Regions from separate parts of the Homo sapiens genome. Here region 1 is linked to region 2. Evidence: promoter capture Hi-C in 16 types of primary human blood cells and fetal thymus (Javierre and others, 2016). All regions are on one chromosome and are shown on one strand. The core of a region is centred on a gene start or on the middle of the fragment in contact, and the rest is flanking DNA. Distances in the headings are between cores, read along the strand shown. Region 1 overlaps ODR4 (odr-4 GPCR localization factor homolog). Region 2 holds the start of RNF2 (ring finger protein 2).

Region 1 (5,709 bases), core at 907-3,406, 1.3 Mb before region 2:
AGAAAGTTATTTACAAACCATTGGGAATTTAACTTTACATTACTTAATATTTTCTTTAGAAGATAGTTGCCATGTTTGTCCCCTTAAACACCATGTTGAAATGTGAACCCAAGTGGGGCCTAATGGAAGGTGTTTGGGTCATGGGGCAGATCCCTCATTAATGGCTTGGTTCCATCCTCAGAGCAGTGAATGAGTTCTCGCTATATTTGTTCCTACGAGAGCTGGTTGTTAAAAAAAAAAGCCTAGCACCTCCCAACCCCTTGCTTCCTCTCTGGCCCAGTGATCTTTACACACCAGCTCCAATCTGCCTTCTGACATGAACAGAAGCAGCCTGAGGCTTTGACCAGATGCTCAATCTTGCAGCCAGCAGAATCATGAGCCAAACAGGCCTTTTTTTCTTTATAAATTACTCAGTCTTAGGTATTCCTTAATAGCCACCCAAACAGACTAAAACAATAATAATTAAATACTGGATTTCTTCGTTTTGTTTTGTTGAGACAGAGTCTCGCTTTGTCGCCCAGTCTGGAGTGCAATGGTGTGATCTTGGCTCATTGCAACCTCCGCCTCCCAGGTTCAAGCAATTCTCCTGCCTCAGCCTCCCAAGTAGCTGGGATTACAGGCACCTGCCACCACACCTGGCTAGTTTTTCATATTTTTACTAGAGACGGGGTTTCACCATGTTGGCCAGGCTGGTCTTGAACTCCTGACCTCAGGTGATCCACCCACCTTGGCCTCCCAAAGTGCTGGGATTACAGGCAAGATTTTATTTTTTTTTTAAATATAACTACACACTGCTCCATAATCAAACACATACACAGACACAAATATATGTCCATATATATATATATATATATCTACATACACAGAAACACGTTTGAGTTTAAAAGATTTAAAGATTTAAAGTTGATTGGAAAAGGAAATAAATCTTTTATTTATTAAAGAAAATTCTTTTTCTTAAAACAAACAAACAAAAACGCAGAATGTGCAAGTCTGTCACATAGGTTTACGTGTGCCATGGTGGCTTGCTGCACCTATTGACCTGTCCTCTAAGTTCCCTCCCCTCACCCCCAACCCCAGAAAAGGAAATAATTCTATTTTTACCTTATTCTAACATTATTTATTTGATGATATATAATTCATTCAATAAATACTTGTAAGTGAATTAATTTAGTCATTATTCCCACTCACCCATCCCAAATCTGTTTCTTCCTCGTGTAATGCCAACAGTATCCTCCTAGACACCCAGACTAAAAATCTCAGTCATCTTTAGCTACTTTCTCCCTATGTCTCTTCTCTCTACTCATTCACTAAATCTTCTTGATTCTAGCTCTTTTTTGAAATAAAACTTAAACATATAAACAAAAAAATAAGATAACCTGGCAGGCATGTTCTGTGGCCCATTCTTCATCCAAGTTATCCAACTTAGCTTTGGGATGTTTGAGGTTCTCACTTTGCTCCTCTTTGGGTGGCGTTCTAGTGGCAAGAATCACATAATCCTTTTGTGACGAACACTTCAACAACAAATTAAAAAGCTTGTTAGAGTGATATCTGATTCCTCAATCTAATTAGAGTGATACCTAAATTCCTTAGCTTTTATGACATGCAAAAACTGAGTAATATTTGTAACAGGTTAAATCATTAATACCCACATTATAATGGAAGCTAAAGGGAAGCTAATTTTCAAGGATGGCCTTACAATCTTTCCCTCACATGTTGTTTATCTTTTAATGTATTTAATATCAGCTTCTTATTTATTTGGACAACTCAAATGTAAATCATGGAGTGGTCCCTAAAAATGGTTTACTGGATGAGTGAATGAATTACATTAACTAAAAAGTAATATGCTTATTCAGTTTTCTAGTTATATTTGTTTTATAAGTTATAAATGAACAGATCGGAAAATATTAGTAAAATGAAACAACAAGTGACCTTTTGTATCTTATTTTAATTGAAATGATGACAGTAGGGAACTTCCACATACATTTCCACAGAATAACAAAGGGGATTTGGGACACAATTTAAAGTGATACAGATTCTATGTTCCTCAAGTTTTTTGTTTTGTTTTGTTTTTTGTTCTTTGTGTGTGTGTGTATTTATTTATTTATTTAGAGACAGGGTCTTGCTCTAATGCCCAGGCTGGAGTGCAGTGGTGTGATCATAGCTCACTGCAACCTTGCACTCCTGGGCTCAAGCAATCCTCCCCCCAAGTAGTCTCCCAAGTAGCTAGGACTACAGGCTCAAACAATCAGCCATAATGCCTGGCTTTTTTTTTTTTTTTTTTTTACTTTTTTGTAGAGACAGAGTCTTGCTATGTTGCCCAGGCTAGGTCAAACTCTGACCTTCAAGCAATCCTCCCACCTCGGCCTCCCAAAGCATTGGGATTACAGGCATGAGCCACCACACCCAATCTGTTCTTCAGCTGTAATATCAGTTAAGTAGTAACCAAAGTTGGGAGATCTAAAAATAAATGTAGGGGAACATTCAATAGCTCAGTTTCACTACAGTGAAAGTTTCCTATAAAAAAAGAGTGAAAATAACACTGCTAATGCAAGTTAGCATTGTATCTTCCCCACACATGACCTGAAACTCTGATCATTAGTATCATCTTGGGATAGAAAATAAGAGTAACTATTCCTACAGGTTATTTTCAGGAAGTTACATTCAAATAAACACAGGAAAAGAAAGTAGGTCTCAGTTAAGAAGGCTCCTCTTTTCTTCATAAAATGTATAACTTTGAAAAGAAAAAGAAACTGACAGAGACCAGGAAACAGGCAAGCTTAAGAGGAAGGAGAGGAAAAAGTAATGAACTCTGGAAGAAAAAGCACGTAGAATACTGAAAGGAATGAATTGCTCTGTCCGTGAGCAATACATACTACAGCATAAAAAGAGATAGAAGGAAGGCCTTAGGCCGGGCGCGGTGGCTCACGCCTGTAATCCCAGCACTTTGGGAGGCCGAGGCAGGCGGATCACGAGATCAGGAGATCGAGACCATCCTGGCTAACACGGTGAAACCCCGTCTCTACTAAAAATACAAAAAATTAGCCGGGCGAGGTGGCGGGCGCCTGTAGTCCCAGCTACTCGGGAGGCTGAGGCAGGAGAATGGCGTGAACCCCAGGGGGCGGAGCCTGCAGTGAGCCGAGATTGCGCCACTGCACTCCAGCCTGGGCGACAGCGAGACTCCGTCTCAAAAAAAAAAAAAAGAAGGAAGGCCTTAAATTATGAGACACTCATTTGTAAGATGGCAGTTTGCCTGAGCTTTAGAAACAACCTTTATCCAGTTAAGACAAATTTAGAAGAGGGTCTTTCTCCCTGACTTTTTATCTCTACTGATCACATCTTTCTCTAAGACTCTTCTTCTCTTAAATGTTTTAAACAAAGAGAAAGAAAAAAACTTAAATAGAAAACTCCTAACAAAAAGAGCCCCACATTACAACTGAATTAAAAAGAAATTCACACTGTTCTCAAGAGAGGCAGTCTGGCTGTCTAATGAGAGGCCTCACAGAGTGGTGCTACCTGGTTGAACCATGTAGATCTGCCCTCTGTCTTGCAAATTAAGAAATCTGATTTGTAAAAATTCTGAAAATGAGCCTGTCTTTCATGGCTAGACTGACATTGATTAAGTTTATTCAGAATGATGTAGAAAACTAAAATGTCATGAAGGCATCTGAACACTTGAGTCCTCTGGACAGTGTATTCTTTATAAGTAGATAACATGGGGCATCAAATTATAAAAGAAAGTAGCTTGGGAATATGGGTAGAATCAGAATAAGGAAAGTTAATTATGTAATTTGAAGATTCTAAGGCATCAGGCTAAGATATCTAGAAAGAAAATTGTCCCAATAAGAGCTTTATTGGCTAGTAGGCCTCAAAATCAAGTCCTTGGGCCAAAGTGCACTCTCCTGTGTTTGGATGGACACAGTCAGCTTGCCTGTGTGACTCTCCTTTTTTTTTTTTTTTGGCTTTGTACTGCTGACCGGTCCCTCCTGCCGATTAACACGTTCTTCCTTCACTCATAAGAAATCAGTGGCATGGGTTTTAAAATAAGTATCTGAATCTCTGTTCCATTTTGTGTTTTTAAGACTCAGCTCTAAGAGGAAATTAGAATTTGTCTAATTTCCAAATTTTTCCCAATCCCTCTCCCTCCCTATTGATCCAACAACAACAACAAAAAATTCAGTAAGATGGGTACTATAGCTTACAACAAAAATATGACCACTGTTGCCATAAGTCTGATATAAGACAACACAAATTAGAACAGGAATAAAATTTTCAAAAGCTTCTTTTGTAAAGAACTGGACAACCAGATATTAAAAAGATTAGAAGGGAATACAAAACACTTTGGAAAGACAACAAAATGTGAAAAATCTGGTCAATAAACATTCTAATTCTGAAGTTTCCATATTATAAATTACGTTTACATGGTCAAAGGGGAAGGTGTCCTGACGAGCAAAATTGGGCTAGGTTTGTCTACTTCTCCATGTTTCCTCAAAGACCTACTTTAAAGTTACTTCTTCCACATTTCTTCTTCCATCCCCCAATCTTGAGTTTATTATTAAATAGCATCTTTTAACTTTAAATCAACAAGTAATTTTTAAAATAAATTACAGAGTAATTATTTAGTTATAAATGCAGAGTAAAAGATACATACCTGTCCTATTAAAAGGCCAGAGACAAAAGCCTTTCCTTGGAGATTTATGTTTGAAAGATACTGGCCAACAGTCTCTTCTACAATGTAGGTTCTTCCCATTTTTAGGAACTAAAATCTCCTATATCACAAGAAGAAAAGATACAGCATTTAGGTAAAATATCATTTGCAATGTCTTTATCATGGGAGTAGTTTAGCAAGAGAAGTGATACTATCCTGAGGCTATCTCATGCCTTGCAGCAAATACTTATTACATAGTGTATTCCTTCTTGCAAAGTTCAGATGCAGTTCCAGAGTTCTTCTCAATACAATGCAGCAGGAAACAACCACAAATCAACCAGAGTTGACATGAGAGATCAAACCTTTTACTCATACCTGGGATAAGGGAGAGGATACTAAACTAGTAAGCAACACACCAGATTTCTTTTTTTTTTTTTTTTTTTTGAGACGGAGTTTTGCTCTTGTCACCCAGGCTGGAGTGCAGTGGCGCAACCTCGGCACACTGTAACCTCTGCCTCCCAGGTTCAAGTGATTCTCCTGCCTCGGCCTCCTGAGTAGCTGGGGTTACAGGGGCTCACGACCATGCCCGGCTAATTTTTGTGTTTTTAGTAGAGACGGGGTTTCACCATGTTGGCCAGGCTGGTCTCGAACTCCTGACCTCAGGTGATCCGCCCGCCTCGGCCTCCAAAGTGCTGGGATTACAGGCGTGAGCCACCATGCCCAGCCAACACACCAGATTTCTTATTTTAGATCTACTCCCTAGTTGTATTATCTTTGATACTCTATTGCTAAGTCTTGGTGTTCTCATTGCTAAAATCGTAAACATGAATTTCTGAATAGTTCATTAGGAGGTAGAGTCAAATTCATTTACTTGATAAGCATATATGAAAGAACTATACTATTTGCTTAGAAACTATGCTAAGTGGGATAACACAAAGATGAGCAACACAATCTCTGTCCTTGAGCAATACATACTACAGTAAGAGTTATTTAAGTAGATAAATAGCAATACAATAACAACATATAGCTTCTACTTTGTACAACGCATTATTGTAAGTACTTTC
Region 2 (6,379 bases), core at 626-3,125:
CTGACCTGGTCTATATTTCTATCCATTCAAACCTGGGAGCTTCACACAGGCAGAGAAAAACTCCAAATTCCCAGTATTTTGAAAGTCTGCATGGTCTACATTATGTTAGTGATTGTAACTGGAAATTTTTCTATGCAACACACTTTAGGACAACTAGCTTATTTTTCAAATACTCAAACGGATTGGCCTGACTCGGGCAATTTTTCTTCGTAAATCTGCCTCTACTATAATTAACCTCAAATGTGGATGCCACAAGGATACCTGAGGAAAATAACTACAATCCTTACAAAAAGTGAGGGACCATATTTGCTGTGCTACCCCTAGAAAAAGGAGTCACCTATAACTACCTATTATTTTGCTAAAAAGTAGTTTAAGAGTACAATCAAGATTTTTAAAGATACTTGTTGATTGTGAAAAGTAGAAATTTCAGGGGAAAAAGGGAATAACCAAGAGTCATATTGCTGCTATTTAAATACTTTATAAATCCAAGGATCAAATTTCACTATAAGAAGCAAACTCTCACACCCACCTCAGTTATTAGAATATTCAACAACTGCACTTAATACAAAACAGATAGATTAGCTACCAATTAGACTAAGTATTCCAGCTGATCATCTTGGAATTACCAAAAGTAGATTATGTAATGCAAATCGCTCGTACATTCGTTTTAAACATATCCTCGGTTTAGAACACTGAAACCATGCCTTAATTTTTTTAATTGAAAAACAGCGTATTACTAAAATACTGAGTGCATATGTATATCCTTTTCACGGCACTTCAAAGAAACCTGACATCTTCAAATCATTTTACAATGTAAAGTTACATTCTCTAAAACTTCCGACAGCCTCGAAAAAGATACCCAAAGGGGCTTCAAATAGATGAGTCTATAATTGATCTTAGCGGGCAAATAACTGGAATGAACCTCAAAGTTTGAGATCAATTTTTACTAACACCATCTCTGAAAGCAAGAAGGAGACTTCTGTAGAAGGTAAACGATTCTGACCAGCAGGACGTGGGCTCCCGGCAAAAGTGGGTACTAGCATCTCAGCGTAAACGACACGGTTCAAAACGCGAATCTTCCCGCAGAAACTAACCAAGACACCCCCTCCCCCCACGACTCCTCCTGGGTAAGCTCACGGTTTTAGAAAGCAGCAACAGATACTCCAGAGCAGGAGGCGGCACTCCAGGAATGTGTGAAGCTGAAGGGGTCTCCCCGAGGAACCCCGAGGTCGAGGAGCTCCTCTACACTGGAACCCCGACTCCGACCCCCCAGAAGGAAGGAGCGATATCTGCACAAAGTGCCCCCTACCCCACCCCCACGATGCAGACACACATCCCTAGCTGCGAGGCGAAAGCCCAGAGAAAAAACTCGCATTCCACTCCGTCCGCCTCCGGAGTAGGGCTGCAGAGAGGCTGGGGCCCCCGCCCCCGGAGGCGAGGGGACCGCGCCGCAGCGCCGGCCTCCGCGCAGAGGAAAGGGCAGCGAAAGGCTCGCGGCGAAGGAAGGAATCCCGGCGCTTCGCTGACTGGGTCCTCCGCAAACCAGCTCCCTTCCCTCCCACGACCCTCGAAGACACGGGAACAATGAGAACCCGCTTCACCCGCCGTCTCCGCCGCGAGAGCGGCCGGGGGCGGCGGCGGCGCCATGTCCCTTCACACCCCCGCGGACACACACCCCCCCCACACTCCGGGGCCCCCGTCAGTCGCCTGCAACGCTGCCGAGTAGACGCGTGTCCCGGCCCGCTGCTTCCGCGTCCTTCGCCTCCCCGCCCGCCCCACTCACCGGCTCCTGCCCCAGCCCAGGGCTCCGCTGGCCGCGGCCGGAGCAAGACTCTGGTATCAGCTGCCGCGGACGCCGGCGCCGCCGCACAATATGGCGAGCCTCAGCTTCCGCAATGGAGCTCGGGAAATACAACAGGGGCCGCTCAATATTCATGAGAGACTGAGGGGAAGCCGGCTCGGCCGGCGCTGCGGGGAGGGCGGGAAGGAGCGAGCGAGCGAGGGGCGGAGGCGCGGGACGAGGACGTGCACGGCGCGGGGAGGCCCGCGGCGCGAGGGAGGGTGCGCCGCCGCGTGTTGGCCTGGAGAACCCGCGCCACCGCCCCGCCCTGGGCTGGCCGGCCACGCCCCCCCGGCGCCCACCGCGGTCCGACGTAGCCCCCGGGCAACGCCCGGATGACGGCGCAGCCACCTCGTGCTCAACCTTCTGCTTGGGTTCTTCTGCCCTGGCTTCGGCCCACCCTTTACACCTTCCTGGCCGGCTTCTGGGGTTTGGGCTCAGACTTCTTTCTCATGAGTTCGTCCTCTTAAACCTGTCCCACCCGGCGGAAATCCTCATCAGGCTTTGGTTTGCAGAACTTCACATGAACTTCGGCACCCTTCCGCTCTCGTACAACAAACATACACTTTTCATCCTTGCAGGATAAAACTGCAAGTGTAATTGCTCCTGGGAAAATGACCTTCCACTCTAAACTTAGCTTAACATTCTGATTGTGGTCATCAGCTCTTACTATTTACCTTGCTGCTGCTTTATTCCTACCTCCTTGGCCCCTTCCAGTGTTACCTTCTGAACTTGAGGATTTACGAAGTAATAGATTAATAGATGTAATCATTACCTAAAACACAGCCAGTTAGTCTCCAGTAAATTATCCGACATTTAATGCATATAAATTATGAGCTGAAGAAGTAACGAAGAATTGAAAGTTCCCTGATCTCTATATGTACTATTGTTGAGATGTCATGTTCTCTTGAGAAGATAACCAGCAATACCAGACCGTAAATCTGAAGGCATAGAGGCATAAACCAATGGACTGCAGTGGGAATTGGGCAAACTAGGTTCATAGCCTCCAATGTGTGTCTATGTGACTTACGTAGATTGCGTAGCTCCTCTGCACTTCATTTTCTTCGTCTGCGAGATGAGAGAATTGTATTGAATCCTAGGTCCTTTCCAGTTCTTTAACGCTCTGAAACTCTCTATAAGCAATTCCAAATAAATGACATGAATTTACATAGGAATTTGGAAAAGAAAAATATCAATTCCAGCTGGTGTGTTTGGGGATGATTTCCTGAGGAGCCGGGATTTAAGATGGCCTTTGACGCCTTGGATGGGTGGAAAGAAAAAGGACAGGTGTTAAATACAGCACATTATATATGCTACCTAACAATCCATCAAAGAAAACAAGCATTATTCTTTTTCAGTGGCTTGAAAGCTTTTGCCTACTATCTATAACTTTAAATAACAAGTGACAGTTATCTGACTCTACAAGCCCTTCAAGGTTAAACTCTTCCTCCAATGTGGGGGGAGAAAAAAAGGCTGGGTGTGGTAGCTCACGCCTGTAATCTCAGCACTTTGGGAGCCCAAGGCCACCGGATCACTTGAGATCAGGAGTTCGAGATCAGCCTGGCCAATATGGTGAAACTGTCTTTACTAAAAATACAAAAAAAAGTTAGCCAGGTGTCGTGGCACGCGCCTGCAGTCCCAGCTACTCGGGAGGCTGAGGCAGGAGAATCGCTTGAACCTGGGAAGCAGAGGTTGCAGTGAGCCGAGATCGCGCCATGACACTCCAGCCTGGGTGTCTCGGCGAGACTGCGTCTCAAAACAAAACAAAACAACAACAACAACAAAATCAAAATAATCAGGGAAGCTCTGCTTCTCCCTTCTTGTGAAAGTCCACTTTCTAGAAACAGTGCAGTTGCAGAAGCATCTCCCTTCTTCCTTCATGACGAGTGCATGTGTAGTTCAATTAAAGGAAGACAGGTGTTCATAATTTAGAACTTTTGCTCTAATTAAAATGCCTTTGAAAATCATGATGTGTGGTTAGATTAAGCAATTCAATTGATGTTGAGAAAAGTGATGATTTGTAGAAAGCGCAGGAACTTTATGGATGAAAGTTAAATATAGTGCTTAAAAAAGACTCACAGGAGAATTAGTGGAAAAACGGAAAACTTATGGGATATCTGGATTAAATGTGATTAAAAAGCTAGACCTCAGGCTAACATCCTTAATATGAAAAACACTACTGACAAATTAATGGAACTCATTTTATCTATTTTATCTCTTACTCAGAAACTTGGCACTGGATCTTCTCTGACTATATTAATCAGGAAAGGTTATGTTATGGTATAGTAACAAACATCTCCAAAATCTACATGCCTTAACACAACAAAAGTTATTGTTTGGTTATGCTTCATGCTTCATGTGGATCCAACTCACTCTGTTCTGGTCACTCCAGGAACCAGATTGATAGAGACACCACCATCTTGTAGCTGTACCACCCTGGAACACAGAAACTTATTCTCTGCAGCAGAGGAAGAAAATGGCTAAAGAATCCCCGTGAATTTTTCGTAGCCTTAGCTTGGAAAAGAGAGCACTGATCACATTTCATTGCCCAGAACTGGTTGTACAGCCCCACACATCTGCAAAGGGACTGAGTCCTTGAACTGAGTTCAGAAAGAGAAGTGGGGACATTGGTGAACAATGCTAACGTCAGCCACCCTGACCTCACCACTAGGTTCCTAGATGCCATGGGAAAATTCTAAGAGGTTTTATTCTGTAACACTGGTTCTCTTGAGTGACCCCAAGAAAGTTATGCGTTCAAAAGTAAACTCTCTTACTTATTAAGAGTTGACTGCCATGTAAATAGAGTGGACTTTCCATTTTCTTCCCTGTTGTTTTAATCGTATATTATATCGATGTAAACTCCATAGTAAATATATCAGTAGTGATTCACATATCCAGACCACATTATTTTTGCTAATGTTTTGACCTGACATAACAGATATCGTTCTAAAAAACATTTTCTAGTAACACTCTATCTGCATGTTAAATGTGCTAATTGGAAGTGATATTTGTATTTTAAGTAGAGGAACATTAAATTAACACTACATAATAGAAGTATATTATGGGTGATGACTAGATGAATTCTAGTTAAAAAAAAATTGTCTTCCTTTAACACTTCAGAAGTAGTATCAGGTTAACTACATGATGAATTGGGTAGGTATCTCTAAGTGATCATAAAAATCACCTCTTGGCTGGGCATGGCGGCCCAGGCCTGTTATCCCAGCACTTTGGGAGGCCGAGGCCGGTGGATCACCTGAGGTCAGGAGTTTGAGACCAGCCTGGCTAACATGGCAAAACTCCGTCTCTACTAAAAATACAAAAATTAGCCGGGTGTAGTGGCAGGCGCCTGTAATCCCAGCTACTCGGAAGGCTGAGGCAGGAAAATTGCTTGAACCTGGGAGGCTGAGGTTGCAGTGAGCTGAGATCATGCCACTGCACTCCAGCCTGGGTGACAGAGCCAGACTCCATATCCAAAAAAAAAAAAAATGAAAGAAAAAATCACCTCTTAACTGGTATTCTGCTATAGTCAGGCTACAAAATTAAAACTAGTTTAGTTCAACCAGCTTTTATTGAGCATCTAGTATGTGCCAAGCACTTTGTTAAGTACTTGGAATAAAAACATTAATATAACTAGGATATGAGTTCCTTGAAAGCAAAAATCTTGTTCACCAGCAGATACCTAGAGACTAGCACAGTGCTGGCACTTAGTAGATGCTCAATAAATAGGTGTTAAGAGAATGAAAGAATGGGATTCTTTGACTCCAGTGTGTATATGAAATAGAATAGCACATATGAGCTTGGTTTGCTTCACTTTCATTACTTAACAGAGGACGTTTCTGTCAAGAGTTTGTTTAGTCTCTCCAGAGGCTTTCTCTGCTTAGGCAGTGTGTCTTAAATGGAAATTCACACTTGCCTATTCTATCTCTACCATATACATTTATTTTCAGTCATGCTTGAAGTATTTAATGGTTATCAGCTCATCTGAGATGAAGACTGCAGGCCACCAATCACCTGTTAATGCTAAGCTATGTATGCATCACAGTTTATAAAGAAACTTTAGATCTGTTATTTCATGAATTTTCAGAACAGTTTTCCAAGGTATTATTCCTACTTTATGGAGGACAGGAATGTGACTTCTGCAGCTCAATAACTCTCCCAAACATTGAGTTAGTAAGTGGCAGAGCTGAGGCTCAGACCTTGGTCATTTGACTCCAAGTGCCAGATATATTCCATTCTGCCACATCTGCCTTGCCACTCTGTGCTGCATACACAACTGCAGTATCTTTCTTCTTTCTAGTAAGTGGTATATGAGTCAAACATCTCTGGAGTTTCCTCTCAACATTATCATTTATCCCAATCCTCAGTGTAGTATTTTTTCAAGAAGCTAGAGATGATTTTCTTTTTTTTTTTTTCTTTTTTTTTTTTTTTTGTGACAGACTTTCACTCTTGACGCCCAGGCTGGAGTGCAATGGCGCAATCTCAGCTCACTGCAACTTCTGCCTCCCCGGTTCAAGCGATTCTGCTTTCTCAGCCTCCCGA

What was found. Contacts are between HindIII fragments. The CHiCAGO score rates a contact against its expected background, and 5 or more counts as called.
Region 1: a fragment that was not itself captured here is called in contact with the fragment with the promoter of RNF2 in region 2 in 3 of 17 cell types (total B cells, naive CD8 T cells and non-activated CD4 T cells); the score reaches 6.0 in total B cells.

What each region holds. Positions count from the first base shown.
Region 1 is chr1:186,378,824-186,384,532 of GRCh38, reverse strand. It overlaps ODR4 (odr-4 GPCR localization factor homolog), which reads right to left. Exons shown (of 14, transcript NM_017847.6): 2 at 4,649-4,766; 3 at 1,377-1,511. The coding sequence starts at 4,747. Among named protein-coding and RNA genes, the nearest start is that of ODR4, 5.8 kb to the right of the region's middle. The HindIII fragment of the contact is 1,244 bases long and covers 1,535-2,778 here.
Region 2 is chr1:185,041,054-185,047,432 of GRCh38, reverse strand. RNF2 (ring finger protein 2) reads right to left here and starts at 1,875. Exons shown (of 7, transcript NM_007212.4): 1 at 1,784-1,875. RefSeq lists a silencer at 1,986-2,245. The HindIII fragment of the contact is 4,610 bases long and covers 1-3,211 here.